Linked DNA regions of Homo sapiens: all the other regions are linked to region 3. Evidence: promoter capture Hi-C in human tissues and cell types (Jung and others, 2019). All regions are on one chromosome and are shown on one strand. The core of a region is centred on a gene start or on the middle of the fragment in contact, and the rest is flanking DNA. Distances in the headings are between cores, read along the strand shown. Region 1 overlaps PAX5 (paired box 5). Region 2 overlaps ZCCHC7 (zinc finger CCHC-type containing 7). Region 3 holds the start of PAX5 (paired box 5). Region 4 overlaps PAX5 (paired box 5).

The links. Contacts are between HindIII fragments. The study calls those that stand out against the background at their distance.
Region 1: a contact is called between a fragment that was not itself captured here and the fragment with the promoter of PAX5 in region 3, in 1 of the 25 tissues and cell types used here (liver).
Region 2: a fragment that was not itself captured here is called in contact with the fragment with the promoter of PAX5 in region 3 in 1 of the 25 tissues and cell types used here (lymphoblastoid cells).
Region 4: a contact is called between a fragment that was not itself captured here and the fragment with the promoter of PAX5 in region 3, in 3 of the 25 tissues and cell types used here (IMR-90 fibroblasts, lymphoblastoid cells and spleen).

What each region holds. Positions count from the first base shown.
Region 1 is chr9:36,886,697-36,889,703 of GRCh38, reverse strand. The region is part of intron 7 of PAX5 (paired box 5); the gene reads left to right. Among named protein-coding and RNA genes, the nearest start is that of MIR4476, 5.3 kb to the left of the region's middle. The HindIII fragment of the contact is 3,977 bases long and covers 1-3,007 here.
Region 2 is chr9:37,176,044-37,179,066 of GRCh38, reverse strand. All of the region lies in intron 2 of ZCCHC7 (zinc finger CCHC-type containing 7), which reads right to left. All of the region lies in intron 1 of LOC105376033 (a long non-coding RNA gene), which reads right to left. Among named protein-coding and RNA genes, the nearest start is that of ZCCHC7, 57 kb to the right of the region's middle. The HindIII fragment of the contact is 9,777 bases long and covers 1-3,023 here.
Region 3 is chr9:37,032,771-37,035,764 of GRCh38, reverse strand. It overlaps PAX5 (paired box 5), which reads left to right and starts at 1,497. Exons shown (of 10, transcript NM_016734.3): 1 at 1,497-1,779. The coding sequence starts at 1,734. RefSeq lists silencers at 1-84, 1,165-1,344, 1,611-1,731, an enhancer at 785-834 and a promoter at 913-1,351. The HindIII fragment of the contact is 13,727 bases long and covers 1-2,994 here.
Region 4 is chr9:36,864,668-36,867,368 of GRCh38, reverse strand. The region is part of intron 8 of PAX5 (paired box 5); the gene reads left to right. Among named protein-coding and RNA genes, the nearest start is that of MIR4540, 1.7 kb to the right of the region's middle. RefSeq lists an enhancer at 2,473-2,582. The HindIII fragment of the contact is 4,420 bases long and covers 1-2,701 here.

The sequences.
Region 1 (3,007 bases), core at 304-2,803, 150 kb after region 3:
CAGTGCAAGGGAAACAGGAATGAGAGCAGTTCTTGATCTCTGGGGACTTCCAGTCTAGAAGCAGGAGAAGGATGGGTGCCCAATGCTGGGGGATTGTGAAGGCATCTGGTGCCAGAACGCCTCCGTTTGGATAAGGGTCCATTTGTGACTAGCTGTGGGAACTTGGGCAGGTGCCTAATCTCGCTGTGTTTTAGTTTCCACATCTGTAAAATGGGGATAACAATAGGGTTCACCTTACAGAGTTTTTGAGGATGAAATGAATCTATATTTACAAAGCAGAGTGAATATTGTTTAGAACACTGCTTAGTGTAGAGCCTTGTCTGGCATACAGTAAATTCTACAAAAATATTAGCTGTTATTGTTATTATTATCAGCCGTGCAACCTTGGGTACATCAACTGCTTGGGAGCCTTCATTTCCTCATTTGTAAAATGGGGATTATAACCGCAACCTTATGGGGTTCTTGTATTGAATGAGGTTAAGACATGGAAGTGCCTGGCCAGGGCCTGGCTTGTGGGAACTCCAAGGAGGCTGGAGCTCTGTGGGTTGACCAGTCACCAAGGGGGCCCAGGTTCAGGGTAAAGGATCATAGACCTCACTTCTCCATGAGAAGAGTAACAAAGAATTTGCAGACATGTTTTAATCCTGTTACAGAGAGTACCATTGTTACACTCCCAATAAATACCCTCTTTTTCCAATTATCAAAGAAAGCCCCATGCTCAGATCGTTGTATTACCTGCCAGAGGTCACACAGCGAGTAAGTGGTGGAGCTAAGATTTGAAGCCAGGCCTGTGTGACTCCAAACTCCACCCCTCCCTGCAAGGCTCAGGGGCCTAGATTTGGCTCTGGAGGCAACGGGGGAGCCTGTGTGAAAGGGAGAGCAGATGTGGGTGGCTTCATGCCCCCTCAAGCCTGCCGCCTGCAGAGCTGCCTGGAGGTCTCCTCCCTGGGGTCAGGTCTGCCCTCTGGATGCCAGGTCTTCCACCAGCGTCAGCCATAGCGTGCCTCTGCCCAGCCTGCCCTCTCCCCAGATGCAGCCTGAGACTTTATATCTTCCCTTCATGTCTTTGCCTGTTGAGCATTTCCCAGCCCCAGCCCTAGGCAATCACGAATCTACCTTTTGTCGGTAGATTTGCCTATCTTGGACATTTGTATGAATATATTCACACAATACATAGTCTTTTGTGACTGGCTTCTTTCACGTAGCATAGTCATTTCAAGTTCATTATGAATGTTGCTACTGTAGTATGTATTGGTATTTCACTCTGTTTTATTGCCAAATATTCCATTGTATGGACATACTACATTTTCGTTATGCATTCATCAATTGATGGATATCTGAGCTGTTTCCACTTTTTGGCTATCATGAATAATGCTGCCACCAACATTTGTGTACAAGTTTTTATGTGGACATACGTTCTTATTTCTCTGGGGTGTACACCTAGGAGTGGGAATTGCTGGGTCACGTGGTAACTCGATGTCTAAGAACTGCCAGACTTTTCCAAAGCAGCTGTACCATTTTACATTCCTACCAGCAGTGTTTGAGGGTTCCGATTTTCCCCATCTTTGCCAATGATTGTGACAATATGTCTTTTTGACTGTGACCTTCCCAGTGGGTATGAAGTGGTGTTTTATTGTGGTTTGGATTTGCATTTCCCTGAGAGCTAATGATGTTGAACATCTTTTCATGTGCTTGTTAGCCATTTCATTTATTCTTCTTTAGACAAATGCCTATTCAGTTGCTTTGCTCATTTTAAAATTGGATTATTTGTCTATTATTGAGCTGCAAGAGTTCTTTATATATTCTAGATACAAGTCCTTTATCAGACATATGATTTGCAAATATTTTCTCCCATTCTATGGGTCATTTTTTCACTTTCTTGGTAGTATCCTTTGAAGCACAAAAGCTTTTAATTTTGATGAAGTCCAGTGTATCTATTTTTTTGTTTGTGTCATATCCAATAAACTATTGCCGAATCCAGGGTCATGGAGATTTATGCCCATATTTCCTTCTAAGAATTTTGTACTTTTAACTCCTACATTTAGGTCTTTGATTCATTTTTGAGTTAATTTTTGTAGTGTGTGTGCATCTGGTTTCAAATCATAGTTAGAAAGTCTTTCTGCACCTGGATTAGAGAGGAATTCACCTGTATTTTCTTCTAGTACTTGTAGAGTTTTATTTTTTTACATTTATTTCTCAGTTCTATTTGTAGTTTATTCTTATATATGGTGGGAAGAGTTGATCTATTTTATCTTTTTTCCCAGATGGCTTTCCAGTTGTCCTAACACCATTTATAAAAAGTCCATATTTGCCCCAGTGATTCGAGATCCTACCTTCATCGTATGCTAGATTTCCATATAATCTATGCATTGGATTATTGGGTCCATAATCCAATATGGATTGGATCTTTTGAGCCTTTGTTTAAATTTTTCATTCTATTCCATTGGTTTTTTCTTCAGGTGCTGGTATCACAATATTAATTATAAAGACTTCATAGAATGTTTTAGCATCTGGGAGGGCTAGTCCCCTCGAGGGGAAACATTTTTAATAATCCTACAATAATAGCATTTAAGTAGAAATCATGAGATCTGAATTGAAGTCCCTGTTCTACCGCTTACTCTGTGACTTTGGGCCAGTCAAAACTCATCCCTGAGCCTCAGTTTCCTCATGTATACAACAGGGGCAGATCCCTGTTCTTCCCCTTCCTCTCAGGATTGCAAAGAGTGAGTTATTTCAAACCAAATGTGTCTCTTCTGGAGGAGTGGCCTTTGTGTTGAGTTTCACTGTTCTGCCTGGACTCCTTGCTGATAGTAAGCAAAGCCAAGTCTTGGTTATTCTCCCTGGTAAGAGAAGGCCACGCATGAGTTAGAAAAGATGTACTTACGTGCCATTAATAGGAGGAATTATGTTAGGAATGCAAATTGATTCATTTTAGTTAGTTATTTGCAAACTTATTATAGGCCATCAATAACATTCAGTGCCATTGCAAATGATACAAATAATTTCT
Region 2 (3,023 bases), core at 502-3,001, 140 kb before region 3:
ACGGAAAAGATGCAAACAGTACATAATGACAGAGGCAAAGAAATAATGACCACATAATATCAAGAATAGACAGTCAAACACAGGAAAGGTAAATAAAACACTTTAACAAGAAGAGACACAGTAAACATTATGCTGATTTGCAAAATAAAATATCAGTCATCATACAGATCATTAATTTCATATCCAAAAATTTCTCAATCTACCTTATTTATAAAAAGCTTACCTATTTTAGTCACCTAGAGTTAGCAAGTTGACATTTCTAAAATGCCTTCAAAATTTACCTGACATATCCACAAAACTCTAATGGCTATTTTACGTGTTTCTTAACAGAAACCCAAAATTTACTTTCACTGTTTAATATCTGTAAACTCAAAATACGTCTGCTACAACACCTGAACTTTGTATCACTGCTCATTATGTTGACTGTGAATTATTCCAACAACATGTACCAACACCGCGTTAAATCTTTTATATCATAACTATAAGAGTTTTATCCTCACAATAACCTTTGAAATATAGAGGTTTATTTGCCAACCATTGTGAGTTTTCTTCTTTCCATTCTTCCTTCCTTTCCTCTCTTTCTACTTTCTCTTTTACCTTCTTTCCTTCCTTTTTACCTTCTCCTTTTTTCTTTCCTTTTCCTTTTTTTTTTTTTTTGGTGGGGGGTAGGGGGCGGCCAGTGGGGAAGCAATGGGTTTGAGAGGGGAGGTGGGGGTACAAATGGTATGTGACGCTGGGATGTGTTTTAAGTTACAAAGGCGAATAATGTTACTGTTGTATTCTTAACAATGAAGTGAACCTACCCTGATTTTCCACTAAGAGTGATAAATTTGGACTGACATATCCAAATTCTATCATGGGGTTCATAAAGCTAGCTAGAAATCATATACTCATCAGCATGGTGTTTTAATTACCAAGGCACCATTACTGGCTAGGTTTAGGGTTAGAACAGTTTTAGGTTTACAGAAAAATTGTGAAGATAGTACAACGAGTTCTCATGTGCACCACAGCCAGTTTCCCCTATAATAGTGACATCTTACATTAGTATGGTAAATTTGACAAAATTAATGAAACAATATTGATACCTTATTAACTGAAGCTCATACATGATTTCTTTAGTTTTTAATTTTTTTCTGTTCTAGAATTCTATCCAGGATACCACATTACACTTAGTTGTCATGTCTCCCTAGGCTCCTCTTGGCTGTGACAGTATCTCTGACTTTCATTGTTTTTAAGGAATACTGGGTTAGGTATTCTACAGAATGTCCCAAATTGGGATTTGTTTGATGTCTTTCTCATGGTTAGGCTGTGGTTATGGGTTTTGGGAAAAGAAAACCACAGCGGTAAACTGCCATTCTCATTATATCATATCAAGAGTATATCCTATCAATGTGACTGATCTTTCATGTCAGTCTTAATTGCCTGTCTTATTGTGTTCTCTCTTAGTCTCAGCCCTCCCCAAAACTGCATTTACCCCTTTCTGAACTTCATAATCTCCATTATGACATATTACTATTCTTCATTGTTGAAAGTGATAGTTTTTCACAGCTGCTCTCTGTAGGTATGGCTCAATGGGGCAGGAGGAATCAAAGAAACAACCCAGCTGTACTTTCCACACTGCACAAAGATTAGTCTTTGTGTCACTACTTACAGTGATTACTCTCAGTCTGTAGCTATTTCTGACCTAGCTCCATGCTTTTATTTTTTAATTTTATTTATTTATTTATTTATTGAGACTGAGTCTCACTCTGTCACCCAGGCTGGAATGCACTGGCGTGGTCTCAGCTCACTGCAAACTCCACCTCCCAGGTTCAAGCAATTCTCCTGTCTCAGCCTCTCAAGTAGCTGGGACTACAGGTGTGTGCCACCACACCCAGCTAAGTATTTTCAGTAGAGACGGGGTTTCACTGCGTTGGCCAGGCTCGTCTCAAACTCCTGACCTCGTGATCTGCCCACCCTGGCCTCCCAAAGTGCTGGGATTACAGGCGTAAGCCACCACACCCGGCCTAGATCCTTGCTTTTAAAGCCAGTACAAAAAGAAGCTCTCAACTTTCTGTTGTCCTGGCCCCATTTTACTCATATTTCCAGGGGTAGGACTGAGGCATCAGTAGTTTAAAAAAACAAACAAACAAACAAAAACACCAGTGTAAGACCTTATCTCTATATATTGACTGCTACAGTAAAGGCTGGTCTGTCTTCCCATTTACAGAATTCATAGCTATTACTCTTTGGGGTTTCCATTTCCGATATATCTTCAGTTATTCCCCTAATTTAGCCTTAGCTAAAATGAATCCTATATGATTTAAGCAGCAGGAACACTGCAATGCTGTTTAGACACCGGTAGATTAAGCATTGTCAGAAGCTGAGGGCACTCACTGACATTTAGAAGCATTACTAATTTTTAAAATATATACATTAAATGTATATATTTAATTCAGTTATGCATATATTTTAATATATGATGTATGCTTCCATATATTAAAATATAATTACATATTAATATATACCAAAATATATTGACATATATTATTGATTCCAACATGAAGACCACAAAAGTCTGGATATTAAAACACCACAAACAGTGATAAAATGTTCTTTTAAATGTGGGACTCATTTCTGTACTGAAGCAACAATCTATAGGGTGGCTGAGTTCCTAGGCTACCTTAATGAAAGCGTATTTAACAAATGAGGCTAGACTGGGCGCGGTGGCTCACGCCTGTAATCCCAGCACTTTGGGAGGCCGAGGCAGGCGGATCACGAGGTCAGGAGATCGAGACCATCCTGGCTAACACGGTGAAACCCCGTCTCTACTAAAAATACAAAAATTAGCCAGGCATGGTGGCAGGCGCCTGTAGTCCCAGCTACTCCTTGAGGCTGAGGCAGGAGAATGGCATGAACCCAGGAGGCGGCACTTGCAGTGAGCCAAGATCGAGCCACTGGACTCCAGCCTGGGTGACAGCAAGACTCCATCTCAAAAACAAAACAAAACAAACAAACAAACAAACAAACAAAAACAAATGAGG
Region 3 (2,994 bases), core at 248-2,747:
GAAAGAGTCGAGCACTCGGAGATGGCCAAAAATCAAATCTCGGGGTAGGGACACGGGCCCGCAGGCTGCAGGGAGGAGGCGGCGCTGGGGAACTGCGCAGACCACTTGGTGGGGGGGCCGCCCGGGAATCCACAGCCACATTTCCGATTGTGGCGAAATCTGCTCAGTGGATATGTGATGTCCAGTTGCCGCCGGGGGCCCCCCTTTCCTCGAGCTCTAGGCTCTTCCCCCTAGGTTGCGACCCAGCCTCGTGACCACCCCCTCCAAAAAACAAACAACACTCTTGCTGAGGACGATTCACTCTCCAAAACTGCCATTGTCCGGCGGGCCAGGAGTCCTCCTACGGAGCGCTCCCCCGCCCTGGAGAACCTTTCCCCTGCGACCACCCCGCTGCAGGGCCCCACAGGCTTTCAGTGGCTAGGCCCAGCAGCTGAACTAACTCAAGGCTGGGGAGGGGAACAGGGAGGGGAGGCTTGAGTCTGGCCCGAAGAGAGAGGGCTGGACATGCCACACCTCTGCTCGGTCTCTGTGGATCTGATTTCCTCTCTGGAATCAAGTCCTGGGGCTCTGGGACTCCACAACGTCTCAGGGCTCGAGGGCAATGCGATTCCACTTATGGGCCGGGGTAAGGTGTCTGGAACTCCCGCCAATCTCCAGAAACTACTGAGATGTTCTGCTCTGCCCGGGTGCTCCAAAGCGGAAGCCCGGATTTCATCTCCAGTATTTCACAGCTTAACCTCCATGCTCTGGGCCAGAATGGAACTTGATGTGGGGAGGGGTTCTGGGACTAGAAGACTGGATGGGACCTGGGGGCTTTAGGGATCTGGCGCTGCCCTAGGGTCAGGGGCCCAGCAATAGTCAGGACCCCAACAAATTGGGGTGGGGGTTGGATGGCTGGGAACCCTGGGGTCGGGCGCCGCCCTAGGGGTGAATCGGAGTAAACCGGAACGTCGCCTCGGTGCCTGGCAACACTGCCAGCCTTTGCAACCCCTTTCAAAAGCACCTGCTTGGCCGAGCAGTTAATTTCTTCAAAAACAAAAACCCGGCCTGCGCTCGTCTAAGCAGCGGGGTTTGCACATGGAGATGTCACAGGCCCCGCGCACAGCGCAGAGGGCCGCGACCCCCAAGCGCATGTCTTAATAGAAGGTGCGGCTGGAAGACCCGGGCTCCCGGGCTCCGCTTCGGTCTGCCCCTTCCCGTAGGTGCGCTGGCTAGCGCCCGGCGCAGGCTGAAGCCTTCCTTCCCTCCCCCCAACCCCTATAAAAGTCTGGGGCGGCGCGGCAGCAGCACTGCTGCTCTCCCGGCTTCCCGCTCTACTCCGGCCGGGCCGGGTCCGCCACGTCTGGCGCGCTGAGCAGGCCCGGCCGCGCAGCGCCTACCCTTTCCTCGCTCCGGGCCGGCAGTGTGGGGCGGCGCGCTGGGGGCGCGGCGTGTCTGGGGACATCTTGTGATGTTGGCGAGAACAGGACATGATCTCACATGGCGAGAAGCTCTTTAGTTCCTTAATCATTTCACGGTGCCTTCGGACGCTTTTTTTCCACCTAAAACGTTTAGTTTCAGCTCAGTGATCAGCTACCCCAGCTCGGCGGGGGAGCGGAAGGCTTGAATTATTCCGACCTGTGAGCGGCCCCTGGCACCAAAAAAAAAAAAAAAAAAAAAAAAAAAAGAAAAAAAAAGGCACAAAAAAGTGGAAACTTTTCCCTGTCCATTCCATCAAGTCCTGAAAAATCAAAATGGATTTAGAGAAAAATTATCCGACTCCTCGGACCAGCAGGACAGGTAGGACCGCGATACGGGCTCCAGATGTGCAAACTCCGGGACACGGCCAGGCCTTGGTCCCCACGCAGGGTGACCCTGGAGGAGGAGGGGGCGCGCCGCATTTTCGTAGAGACTGTCTAACTGCGGCGTGTTTGTTATGTTTTTTCACCTATCTGTTCACACACTTCTGCATCAGTCCAAATATCTGTGAGTTTGTCTGTGTTTTTCTCTGTTTCTGAATGTTCACGCTGGCGTCCTTCCGGGGGTCTGCAAGTTAGGGCCTGTGTGTTTATATAAGGGACTCAGTGTGTTCATTACAGTATATGTATTTTTAAAAGATGTAAAAATATATGAGTTTGTGTCCAAAAGTTGTTTGCCTGTGTGTGTGTGTGTGTGTGTGTGTGTGTATCTTTATACTCGTGGGGTATTCGTGTGTGTTTATAAGTTAGTACTTGTGTATATTCTTTTGGGTATCCAAAATGTGTGTCTACTATGAGTGTTATTTATGTAATTCGGAAATATCTGAGTGTACATCCACTATTTAAAGGGTCTGCATTCACCTGTTATATCCCAAGTGATTTTTGGATGTGAGAAAGAAGTGGCTACACTGACCTTTCCATTTTTGGATGTCAACGGCTGTCCGATGCATACACGCCAATGTTCACATTGTGTCTCTAGGCAAACTCCTAGACGTGGGTCTGGGGCCTATGGAGATCCGTGGTGTTTAGCATGTGCATTGTAAGGCCCAGTGTCCATTCTATTGGGAGATAGGACCAGGAATGAAGGTGTGAATTCAGGGCATGCAGCCTCTTGGTGTGCAGTGAGCACTGTTCAGGCTACCATTTGTACAAACAGGTCTCCTGTGGCAGGCACAACCTTGCAGATGACAGCGGACACCTGTAGGGTTAGTTGTGACATTTCTAGGGACCCCCAGCCTACATTCACTTTCACCTAGACAAGCCTCTGACACTGGCGTGTGTATTTGTGTGTACACACAGACACACACACACTGTGTCCTCAGGTTTTATCCTGTGGGTGCCGCACCAGTGGAGGAGAGCACAGTGGGTGGATGCATGTGCATAGTCTGGGCATTCAGCTCTAGGGCCTGTATGCGCACAGGCCTCCCTGGCTTAGGTCCCCATGTGCCTCCCACAGGCCTGAGAAGTAGGTAGCAGGATGTGTTTATGTCTGAGAGGAGATAGCAGGGACAGTAGGCCTCCATCTGCCCTGAGGCAT
Region 4 (2,701 bases), core at 136-2,635, 170 kb after region 3:
AAACACTGTGTTACAGCCCAGAAATTGCTTTCATTGTGTGATGCAAAAGAAGGGTGTGGCACGAGCAGGTCTAAGCGGGGACACCAGGTGTATACCGAAGAGTCTTGGGTTGAAGCAGTTTCCCATAGCCCCTACAACTTTGCACTGGACCTTTGTGAATGAATAGCTTTTCCATGGGCACTGCGGGTGTGGGGTTCCTGGGTAGAGAAGAACTCCCCAGGAACGAGCCAGACACATTTGGAAAAACAAATGCAAAGAAATTGGAATCTAGCCTTGGGAAGCAGGAGACCAACCAAGGCCCCCCCCCCACCACCCCATCCAGGACATTTTGTAGGCTGTAGAGCTGGCCACTGGGGGCAGCGGCAAAGACATTGATTCAACAGAGGCCCTAGCCGAGGGCCTTGCCTTTGGCTTTGGAGAAATCTGCTCTGCAGGAGAAGCTTTGAAGGCTGTTAGCCCTGTGTAGATTGGGCTGTGCCTGTGTGGAGCGTGTTGTGTGTTCAACGGAGAGGCCGTTGTGTGTTCTGTAGCTGCTTTTCCGTCCATCACTGATGGACAGGGCTGGACTCAACCTTAGAAATCAACCCAGGGCTGTGCAGATGAGGATGAGGAAAGGACTTGTTCAAAGTCATATGGCAAGTCAGAGGGGGAGCCAGGTGGCCCTCTTTCTGCCCTATTGTCCCCACCCCCCTCAGTTCCTCACCGAAGCAATAAAAAAGAAGCTATTTTGTCTCCTGTCCTTGTGCAGAACTGGTATAAAAAGGACGGTTCCTGGATGCCCTGGCTTCTACAGCAACACAAATCGAGACCCCCACCTTCACCCCAACTTTTGTTGTGCTCTTCCTGAATGCAGATCCTCTCCCAGGCCCTGGGACCTGGCCAGCTACAAAAACATCTTCTCTTAAGTCTCAGGCTTCTGTGCCTCAGTGGATCCAGGCAACGGTGGGCTCCCCAGGTCTGGCCGAGGTTGGTCTGAGACCTGCAGGTACGCCGGGGCACAGCTCCCCTACCCAGAGTCAGGTAGCCAGACACAAAGAAATGATTGTTTTCTGTTCCTGGGTTCAGTTTCCCTCTGGAAGCTGTGACCCAGTTAGAAAGTCAGACAGATAGAAAAATCTGACCACGACCCCAACTGAGGTTCTGAAGTCTTGGCTTCTATTTAGGCCTCTGCCTCGAACGCTCCCTGGTGAGGCCCGGCCCGCCCGCGCTTCTTCAGCCACCAGGAGCAGACCTTCCTAGCCGCTGGTTTCCTCCATAATTGATGATTTATTCCCCACTGACTTCCAAAATGGATTTGAGGCACCTTCCTGACCTTTCAATAACATCAGCCCCAACCTGAAATCCCTGTCATAAAACAGGAGGACTGCCAGTGGTTCCCGGTGGGGCAGGAGTGGATGCAGATCCACCCCACCTGCCCGAGGATGGGCAGACTTGCTTTTCACAGCGTGGCACCACTGAGCCGTCCTTTGTGCCCAGCCCTGCTCTGGAGCGACCCACGCTTCACTGCTAGGAGGTGGGAGCTCACTTTTTTGGAAACAGCTCCTGTCTGGATGCATACCAGAGCAGGCTTCCAAAAACATACTTTTAATCAAAAGAAGACTACCAGAAAAACTGGGGCAAATTGTGATTTTGACAGTGGACAATTATAAATACTGGGAGGGGTTACTAGTTGGCAAATAAACTCCGCTAGTGAAGTCTTGGATTAATTATACCACCAGTGAGCTGGCCGTGTGGGGTCTCCTGATTATCTTCATTTGCGGAATATGTTCTGGTCTTCCTCCATTTCTTCCTTCTCTCCCTCTCTCCCCAGCCTCTCCCGCTGCCTTCCCTCCTCTCTTCCCTTCCTCCCTTCTTCCTTGACTCACTTATTCATTCATCAGACAATCCCTGAGTCCCTCCTGGGTGCTGGGCCTAGTTCAAAGAATGGGCACAGAAATGACTGAATGAATTTCTCAAGACCTAGGAGAATCGCCCATGCTACCTGCTCAGATGGAAAGAAACCAGCTTGCATGTGGAGGTTCTGCAGGATTGCTAGGCCCAGGGGCTAGGCAGAGACTACTGGGGGACAAGAGGGCAAGGTGTGGGGAGCTCAGAAGCTGAGGGTTGCTGACTCGATGGATGCTCTGGCCGGGCTCACCCTGGGCCTCCCTGGGAGAACTGAGGGAAGCACCTGGAAATCTTGGTCTCTGAAGTGGGTGCCTGGCCTGTGTTTCCAAATAGGGGGCTCTGTATTTAGGAGTGGGGAGGAGCAGGGAGCTGCCCTGAATGGCTGCCTGCTTTGGAAATTTCTATGCATTTGTAATAACAAAATTACCATAATTTGCTCGTTAACGCAGCTAGATCAGTCAAGCATTGTTCCTTCGCGGGCGGGAAGGCCGCGGTGCCTCTCTCTGCACACTCTCCACACCCCAGCCCGCCTGCCAGCCCGTTAGAGTGCTGGAAATTAGCATGCAAATGGTCCTAATTCGGTGGGCGAGCTGTCAGGCAGCGCCTCTCTGGCCTCGTCTCTGTGAAGGCCCTGACAGCCCGGCTCCGGCGCCGGCCCACCCTCCTCACTCCAGCCAGGAGGGGCTCCGAGGGGCACCTCTAGACTGACAGCTTGGCGGCCTCCCTCCCTCCGTCAGCGCCATCAGCCCTGGCGGCAGGCTCCCAGGGGAGCAGGCAGGGCCTGCCACCATGCTGGCCAGGCCGGAGGAGGCAG